2 separate regions of the Homo sapiens genome follow, and region 1 is linked to region 2. The links are contacts of gene promoters, found by promoter capture Hi-C in human tissues and cell types (Jung and others, 2019). All regions are on one chromosome and are shown on one strand. The core of a region is centred on a gene start or on the middle of the fragment in contact, and the rest is flanking DNA. Distances in the headings are between cores, read along the strand shown. Region 1 has its middle 13 kb from the start of DEFB116. Region 2 holds the start of DEFB115 (defensin beta 115).

Region 1 (4,276 bases), core at 9-2,508, 63 kb after region 2:
CAAATAAACATGTTTAGGACTTCTCACTATATTTTCTATGTCTCTTAACCTCCCTTTTATTTTTTTAATCTTTTTGTCTATCTGCACTAAATTCTGAATAATTTCTTCTGAATAATCTCTTAATTCACTAATTCTCTCTTCAGCTATGTCTAATGTAATGTTAAATCCAAGTTTTTATTTTCACGTTATTTCAAGTTATTTCTATTTATTTTTCAGATCTGCTTCCTTTTTTTTTTTTTTTGTGATGGGGTCTCACTCTGTCAGTCAGGCTGGAGTGCAGTGGCATGATCTCAGCTCACTGCAACCTCCACCTCCCTGGCTCAAGCAATCCTCCCACCTCAGCCCCCTCAGTAGCTAAGACTATAGGTGTGCACCACCACATCCAGCTAATTTTTTGTATTTTGGTAGAGACAGGGTTTCATCATCTTGCCCCAGGTGGTCACAAACTCCTGAGCTCAGGCAACCCACCCGCCTCGACCTCCTAAAGTGCTGCGATTACAGGCATGAGCCACTGCACTTGGCCAAGATCTGCTTGCTTTTTATTTATAATTTCAAGTCTTGATTTTTTCTTGAAACATATTAAAGATGATTATTTTTTCTTTTTTTTTTTTTTTTTTGAGATGGAGTCTTGCTTTGTCACCCAGGCTGGAATGCTTTGTCACCCAGGCTGGCCCAATCTCATCTCACTGCAACCTCTGGCTTCTGGGTTCAAGCGATTCTCCTGCCTCAGCCTCCCGAGTGGATGGGATCACGGGGACATGCCACCACGCCTGGCTAATTTTTTTTTTTTAGCAGAGAGGGGGTTTCACCATGTTGGCCAGGCTAGTCTTGAACTCCCAGTCTCAGGTGATCTGCCCACCTTGCCCTCCCAAAGTGTGGGATTACAGACGTGAGCCAATGTGCCCAGCCATAAAGATAATTACTTTCTATTCTGTGACTGACAACTTCAATATCTGAATTGTTCCAGGTTTGAGTTTACTATTTATTCTTTCTGCTGCTTCTCATTCATAATGCTTTATTTTCTTGAGAGTTTTGTGATTTTTGTCTGCGAACTGATCATTTTCTTTAAACTTTTTTAAAGAGGTCTAGGATTAAGATGAGTTCTTCAGAGAATATTTATGTTTACTTCTGTCAGGCAACTAAGGGCATTACCAGTCTGGGCCTGTGTAAATTAGATTCTCAGCTTTAGATTTTTCATATCATCAGAGTGCCATGATTCAGGCTATATACTAAGTGAGGGCCTGCTTGGGATTACAAAATCTCAGAGGAGACTCCCTTGCACACACACACCCAATCTTCTCATTAACTAAATTAAAAACAGTTCATTTTCCTTGCAATCCAACTGGGGAGTAGGGATTGTTTCCAGCTCACTGTTATTGTAAAGACGCAATTCTTTGAAGTCCCATATTGATGCAGGAGTCTCTTATTAGGTTTTTTACCACTGGTACTCTGGATAGTAATTTCCATTTCTCAGTTCCATAAGGCCATGAAAAGCATAACTCAAGTTCATATGGTTCAGGAAATACCCTCAAGGTGGAAACTGTTTCAGTGTTTCTTTTCCTAAAAGGACTCCCTTCTCAATTCAATTTCTTGGTTCCATATTATTTAATTTTTGCAAGCTTATGAAATCATTTAAGAAAATATGAAAAATATCCATTTTAGAGATGTTTTCAGCAGAAAAGTACTCACTCTGCCATGGAGTTCAAGGCAAATGCTTAAGCCCAATGTTAAGCTTTGTTGCTCAGCATGGCTACTAGGGAAAGAAGATTCTTTCTGCCTATTCTTGAAATTTGGTTGCTATTTGACCAGTATCTTCTCTTTTGCTTTTTCTAAACAAGTCTAAATATGTCTGAACCTCAAGGTTATGTGCAACTTGAGTTTTTTTCAAACTTAGGTTTCTTTATCCTCTTATAAATTAGACAGTGTCACTTTATAATCTCCTTCAGGTAAGTACTTTACTGCCCATAAGATTATCTCATGCCCCACCAGAGAAATCTTTGAACTAAAGAAGTAATAAAATATTTTCCCAGTGTTGGACTTACCTTTTAATTTGTGTATGGTACATTTTGCCATAGAGAAGTAATTAAATTTAAGTAGTTAATTCTTCATAGCTGTTTTCTGGTTTTGTGCTTACAAATTTCCAGCAAAGTCTCTCTAAATAGTAAGTAATAAAGCCAACATTCATATCCCAAACCCTCAACTATATCCATTGTACCACACCATCTCTACATATAGTGAAACAGCTGGAGAAGGCTGACTCCTTTCTAGATAATGCCAGTTGCAGCTGCGATATCCATTGTTCTATAGGTTTTTGTGGGGGGTTTTTTTTGTGTGTTTTTTTTTTCCTTTCTAATATACCAGAGGTGCATACCATTATCTTGGTCCATACAAAATTTTTGGCATCTTTATAGCCCTCTTTAATGTTTATTTATTGTAATGTTTTTATTCATTTATTTTAAAAATAACGAGTCCTTCACAAATACAAGAGCTAAAATAGCATCAATAACTTAAATTTAAATACTCCTGTATTCCTCTAAAATCCCACACATCCTGCCTTTCCTTATCCACTCCCCAAGAATTTAACATATTTATTTGTATTTCTAAGTAGCATAATGGTAATTTTTATTGTTTAAAGTTTAATTTTGGGGAGAAAAATAAAACTGGGAAAAAAATAGTTTTATTTTTAAAAGAGGTAACAAAGTCTTCTTTGGTATGCATAGTCTTCTAAGATTTGTCTTTTACAATCCATAATATATTATTATTATTAAAATTCAACTATTGTGTGTAGCTGAATTTTACTTCTTTTCCCTGATATGTAGCTCATTCTTTGAATATATCACAATTTATTTATCTATTTGCCTGTCAAAGAACATTTATGTTCCTTACAGTTTGTAGCTTACCTTTTTACTTTCTTTTGGGTATCTTTTGATGGACAGAAATTCTTATATTTTTACATACTCAAACTTATCAATGTTTTCAATATAATTTTCAATACAGTGCTCACATGAAGACTCAGGTTATATATACATAAAATTTCAAGTGCACCCGTTTTCATAAAAGAAATGGAGTAAGTGAATTCCTCCACAGCTGTCACCATAAGTTCTCAGCATTTTAGTCTATTGAAATTCCTCCACAGTGATGCTCCCCTTGACAATACATTTATTTATTAGCACTCATTTCATGCTTATCCTTCTATGAAGGGCCAGGTATAATAAATTCTTCAGTACCTAAATAAACTAAAAATAATTCCAATATATAAACAATGCTCAAAGTCATCCCTTGTTTATAAGTATTTGAATAAACTAAAAATTATTTCTTCTATTTTCTTTGGATCAGGATGGCAGCAAAAAAAGGATATTTTTTTTCTTCGCTGAAGTTTTGGAAAGAAGGAATGCCTTTGTGTCAGGCTAGTATATGGCCTCCCACAGAAACCCAAAACAGTAGCTACATCTGCTGGCCTCCTGGTAGATCCCAGAAAACTACCAAAAACTTTTACAGTCCTTGCTGCATTTGAATCACAGTGCCCCTGTATGTCCCCTCCCACATCCAAACAGACAGGGGACTCCTCCCTGCTGCCTGGCATGCCTTCTCAGCAGGCCTCACATAGATAGGGAGAATAAGTGCTGCAGGGAGCCCTCCTCAGAATGAAACTCAAACCTGATCTAATTCCGCCCCAGTCTGAAGGGATTGCCCTCTCCCAATCGCCCTGAATAGGAAGACCACTACGAAATACTCAAAACTCTCTCAGAATCCACCAGAGCAATGGGCAAAATGCTGACACAGAGAGAGGTGCAGGAAGGTAGTCTCTCTCTCTCTCTCACTCTTTCCATCCGGACAGAGACACACGGCTGCATCACCCAAAGCAAATGTCAGTACCTTTTTTAAGTTCCTTATTACCACGGTTTTTTGGGTAATACTTTGTATCGCCATCAGACTTTGTATCGCCAACATCAATTTATTTTCACTTCTAATATTTCCTCATTGCTCAGTCTGATAGTCAGAAGAAATCTTCTTTTGAATTTCACCATTGTGTGTGACCCACTGAATGCCTGTGTGAAGGTCACTTTCCTTTCTGAGGCTCAGTTTCCCCATCTTCGTCTTCTTCACAAAACAATCTACAGGGTATAACAGTGTTGGTGGGATATTTTTTAAAAAGAAAACAAAAACACTGGCAGTGATTAGTTCCCATATGTAGAGAGAATTGAGGAGCAGCGCAAGAAAAAAGAGAGTCTGGATGAGGGAGACGAGAAGGACAGAAAGATGATTGTGTTGACTT
Region 2 (4,356 bases), core at 381-2,880:
TCCCTAATTAGAATGGCCGGACTTTGCTTTCTTCTCTTAAGCTCAGTGCCTAGAATTGTGCCAGTGCACAGACCCACATGCAGCCAATTCAGCCATCCTCCCTGCAGAATCTGAGGGGAGTGGTCATGTCGTCTCAGTTTGCAGCTTTAAAACAGCAGGAGCCACCAGCTAGCTCCTCCAGGCAGTCTAACCATTTTCCAGATGGTTCCCATCTTCAGAGGTCTTTCTGATGAGTTTCAAAACTTGTGCCCTTGCAGTTTCCACTCAGGCCTATTAGTTCTGCCCTGTGGGCCTACAGAGAACATGCCTTTCAGATACTTGAAGACAGCAATTATGACTCTCTCCAGCTGTTTACTGCTTTTCAAGTTAAACAGACCTCTCCTTCCATCATTGCTCAGGCATAATCCTCTGGGATGACAGAAAGAACATGTTATCTGGGGACAGGTAACCCAGATCTGAATCCAGACCTCACTCATAGTCACTGTGTAACCCTGAGCACATCACACCTGCCTAACAGGGCTCCTGTGAGGATTCCAGGGGGTCATATATATAAAGTGCTTAGCATAGTTGCTGCCTGACAGTGAAAGTTCAGTGGATGACATTGATGTTCATTGCTTTCCTGAAGAAAGTTCTGTCCAAATCCTAAAAGCAAAACAAATTTCCTGAACCCCATCAGGTCCGCTGCCTGCATGTAGAAAGAGGAGAGTAAAACCGATGCACACTGGACTCACCCAAAGGCGGAAAAGGACAAGGAACCCAAAAAGGAAGATCCAGTGGGCCCACAGGCAGCCCTCCTAATGGAGCCTGGGCAGTGCCCTCTTCTTTTTGTTGGAAAAACAGCATGAAATATTTTTTGCTTTGTTGTTTGAGGCTGGAGTCCAAGAAAGACCCAGAAATGGTTGATATGAAGGATTTGGAGCAGGAAAATAGGATACAAATTCAGAGTTAAGAGCTGGACAACGAGTTGGGTTATGAGGGCTTCCACCCCAGTCCGTTTCTTTCTTGCTCATGGTAGGACCCTAGACAATTCTTTTCCACTCTCAGCCTGCATTTTCTTAGCTGGGAAATGCCAATTCTAAGAGCTACTGGGATACAATTATATGCCACATGTGCGTTCACTCACTCAGTGCTTTTCAACACATGTTCACTGTATGCTCTGGGTGTACCAAAATGACAGCCTGTTCCTAACCTCAGGGGTCTCACTGTCTATTAAAAGTTTCCCTTAGGGTATCATTCTGAATGGGAGGAGGAACTAGAAAAACACTTAGTTCCAGTGTGTCATGATAAACACACAGAGAAAAAGAAAACAGCAGCTGTGAGAATGTAGGGGAGGGGGATAAATTCTGAAGGAGAGGGACAGGAAAGGCTTCTTGGAGAAGGGATCTGTTCTCTGGCCAGTGCAACAGCCTTGGAGAGGACTTGTACCTCCTCTGCTCGTGCCTTTCACCATCCCCAAGGATATCTAGAGCAGGACCCTGAACACCGGATAATCAGTTTATACTGCTGAGTGGCAGGCTGATGTTCTGGGTGGTGTAACATTCTGCCCTTCTCTAATTTTTTGTCTGTGAGTCAGCCTTGCCTAGGTCAATAAAATGCTGAGTGCACACCCAGCTTCCCCAGCACACTCAGAATGCTGCCAGATCATTTCTCACCCCTCTCAGGAGACATTAAACTCTCTGTCCTGGCCTTAGTTGTCCTTGTGGTCCTGGCTCAGACTGCCCCAGGTAAACAGAACCATGGAGAGAAGGGAAAAGGGAGTAAGGATGGGGTCCTAACCACAGAATCACTGGAAAATTGAACATGTGTAGAAGCAAGGAGAGCCCACAGGGATGGCTGAGATCTGATGAAAGGCTTATAATGAATATGCTCCCATAAGAAGGGCAGCCTGTCAGGCCTGACCATGGTGGTGGTTCTCATTAGGGAACCTGGAGAATATCTGCAGAGGCCAAGGTGTTTTATATGAAGTCCCTTCCATATGCAGAAGCAACCCCAACATCTCTAGTATCCTGAATGCCTCTGGCCCATATGTCAACAGTCTCATCCTGTGAGTCTCTCACTTCAACCCCACTTTCAGTTGATACTACCTCTTCTAATAATCAGTCTCATTACTTCACTTCTCCACTGTTGTTGGGCTTTGAGTGCTCCTTTAAAGCAGGCAGAAGAGGCAACTTGCTCTTGTCTTGGAATATATGGTGAAAAAGTTGTAAGTTGATGTTTGATATCTACAGGTTTATAAAAACAGGCTCACAGTATGGAGCTGGGGTTACAGCAGAAGATTTTGGCTTTCAAGTTGAACACGCTCAAAGCTCTCTAACAGTATAAACAGGCATCATGGCCAGGTGGTGAATAACTTTCTAATGGAAATGTTTTCCCCTTAGGCTTCCCAGGGGCTCTAAAGTTGATGATTTTTAATTCTGTGATTTCCTTTGGGTCGTTGCTGTTGGAAGTCACATCCTCTCTTGGAGCAGCTATTCAAGCTGAAAGCCTTTGCCAATCACTCAGTTGTTCTAGAAGCAAAAGAAGGTTATTCTGGGCTAACCCTGAGTTGGCTTGAGCATGCCTTATGTTCCAGCGAGGGCAAGTAGAATAGAGGGAGTTGCAGATGCAAGAGACATTTTGGAGAAAGAATCTACATATTGACTTATGAAATACTGGAAGAGAAAAGTGAGAGTCAATGTGACTGATTTTTTTCAGCCTGAACATTCTGGTAAAAGACAGAGAATTAGGAATTATCTCCCAGAAGAAGAGTTTGGGGAAAAGACAAGTGGAAAGAATCTGTAGTTTAGATTAAGATATAATGATCCCTCAAATGAATCCAATGTGCTGAGAAAACTGGGTTTGCAGTCTGCGTTGACTTAGAGTCACAGAAAATAAATCAGAGAAGGGCACAGTGTTAAACCCTCCCTGCACCCACCCCCCAACACACACACACACAAACACAACTTCAGCCTGCAGCTCAGAAATGTAAATTGGTCATCCATTGTTCAGGGTCTTGCTTTAAACAACCCCTGGGGCAAGCACCCCTAGAACAAACAATGCCTGGCACATAGTAGATGCTCAACAAATTGTGGTTAGATGAATAATGAATGGAGAGAGGATAAAAAAGATAATTGAAGGCTTAGTCCCACTCCCTGGCAAGCATCTAGATTTAGAGAGGAAGTAGAACCAGATTTAGTGAGACTGTGAAAAATGACAGAGAAGAAAGTATCATAAGCATAGGAATAAAATTCAATTAGAGCTGATTAGAGGAAGATAACTACTCCTAGTCATTAAACATGCACAAATTTATAACATTCCCATGAATGCCTTTAAGTGTCAAAATCAATGTTTCACTCTAACCATTATTACTATTACCAACATCCTTTCTTTAATTGTATTTATTTTTCAAATGTATTTATATATTCATGTGTTTGCTTATTTTGATAGATGGATGGATCAGAAGGTGCTATTATGGAACTGGCAGATGCAGGAAATCATGCAAAGAAATTGAGAGGAAGAAAGAAAAATGTGGGGAAAAACATATTTGCTGTGTCCCTAAAGAAAAGGATAAACTATCACACATTCACGACCAAAAAGAGACAAGTGAGCTATATATCTAGTTGCGACTCCTAATTCAGAATTTTAAGTCATTATAATGAGTCAATGAAATGGCTATCGGGGGCACCTGCATTTTCCTAGATCTCTGTCAAGTCTTCACAGGGCCCGTTAGAAAAACAAGCTCATTCCTGCTATCAATATATCTCTCTAGCCTGCTGTAGCCCAACAATGCTCTAAGCTGTCCCTGGATATGACTAATAATAGTGGTTTTCAAGGTAAGAAAATTTTATAGGATCTAGATCTTGAATTCCTAAACCTCTGTCCGGGTCCCTGAATGTAGAAGTTTACCAGGTTAACGCAAATTGGACCTTAGCTACAGATTCTTACCTAATGTCTCATCCTGGAGAGTTGCAATAAAACAGAGTAATCCAGAAAGTGTCCTTCTCTGTCTTTAGCTCAAAATTTAGCTCAAGGCTCTGCCATATGGTCTTACTCTTGGAACTTATCCCTTACCCCAAATTCCTAGGCACCTTTGGCTGTCCAAAGATTGGCATGCCCTCTGAGCAGGAGGAAACTATTCCTGCTCCCAAGCAAATGGAAGAGGAAAATAAAAGGCCCAAGATTTAGTGAGAACTTATTATGTGCAAGGTCTTGTCCTAAGCATTTTACTTCATTTTGTCCCAACAACAGCTCCAGGAGATAGGAACTAGTGTGCCCCTTCGCCAGAAGAGGAAACTAAGTCACAGAGAGTTTAAGTGACTTGCCCTAAATGGCACAGATAGCTAGTTCAGTAACAGGACTTTGAACCTGCAATGCCTG

What was found. Contacts are between HindIII fragments. The study calls those that stand out against the background at their distance.
Region 1: a contact is called between a fragment that was not itself captured here and the fragment with the promoter of DEFB115 in region 2, in 2 of the 25 tissues and cell types used here (dorsolateral prefrontal cortex and mesendoderm cells).

The regions. Positions count from the first base shown.
Region 1 is chr20:31,319,123-31,323,398 of GRCh38, forward strand. No RefSeq gene overlaps it. Among named protein-coding and RNA genes, the nearest start is that of DEFB116, 13 kb to the left of the region's middle. The HindIII fragment of the contact is 4,475 bases long and covers 1-3,496 here.
Region 2 is chr20:31,256,034-31,260,389 of GRCh38, forward strand. It overlaps DEFB115 (defensin beta 115), which reads left to right and starts at 1,631. Exons shown (of 2, transcript NM_001037730.1): 1 at 1,631-1,724; 2 at 3,427-3,599. The coding sequence starts at 1,631. The coding sequence ends at 3,599. The HindIII fragment of the contact is 11,769 bases long and covers 1-4,356 here.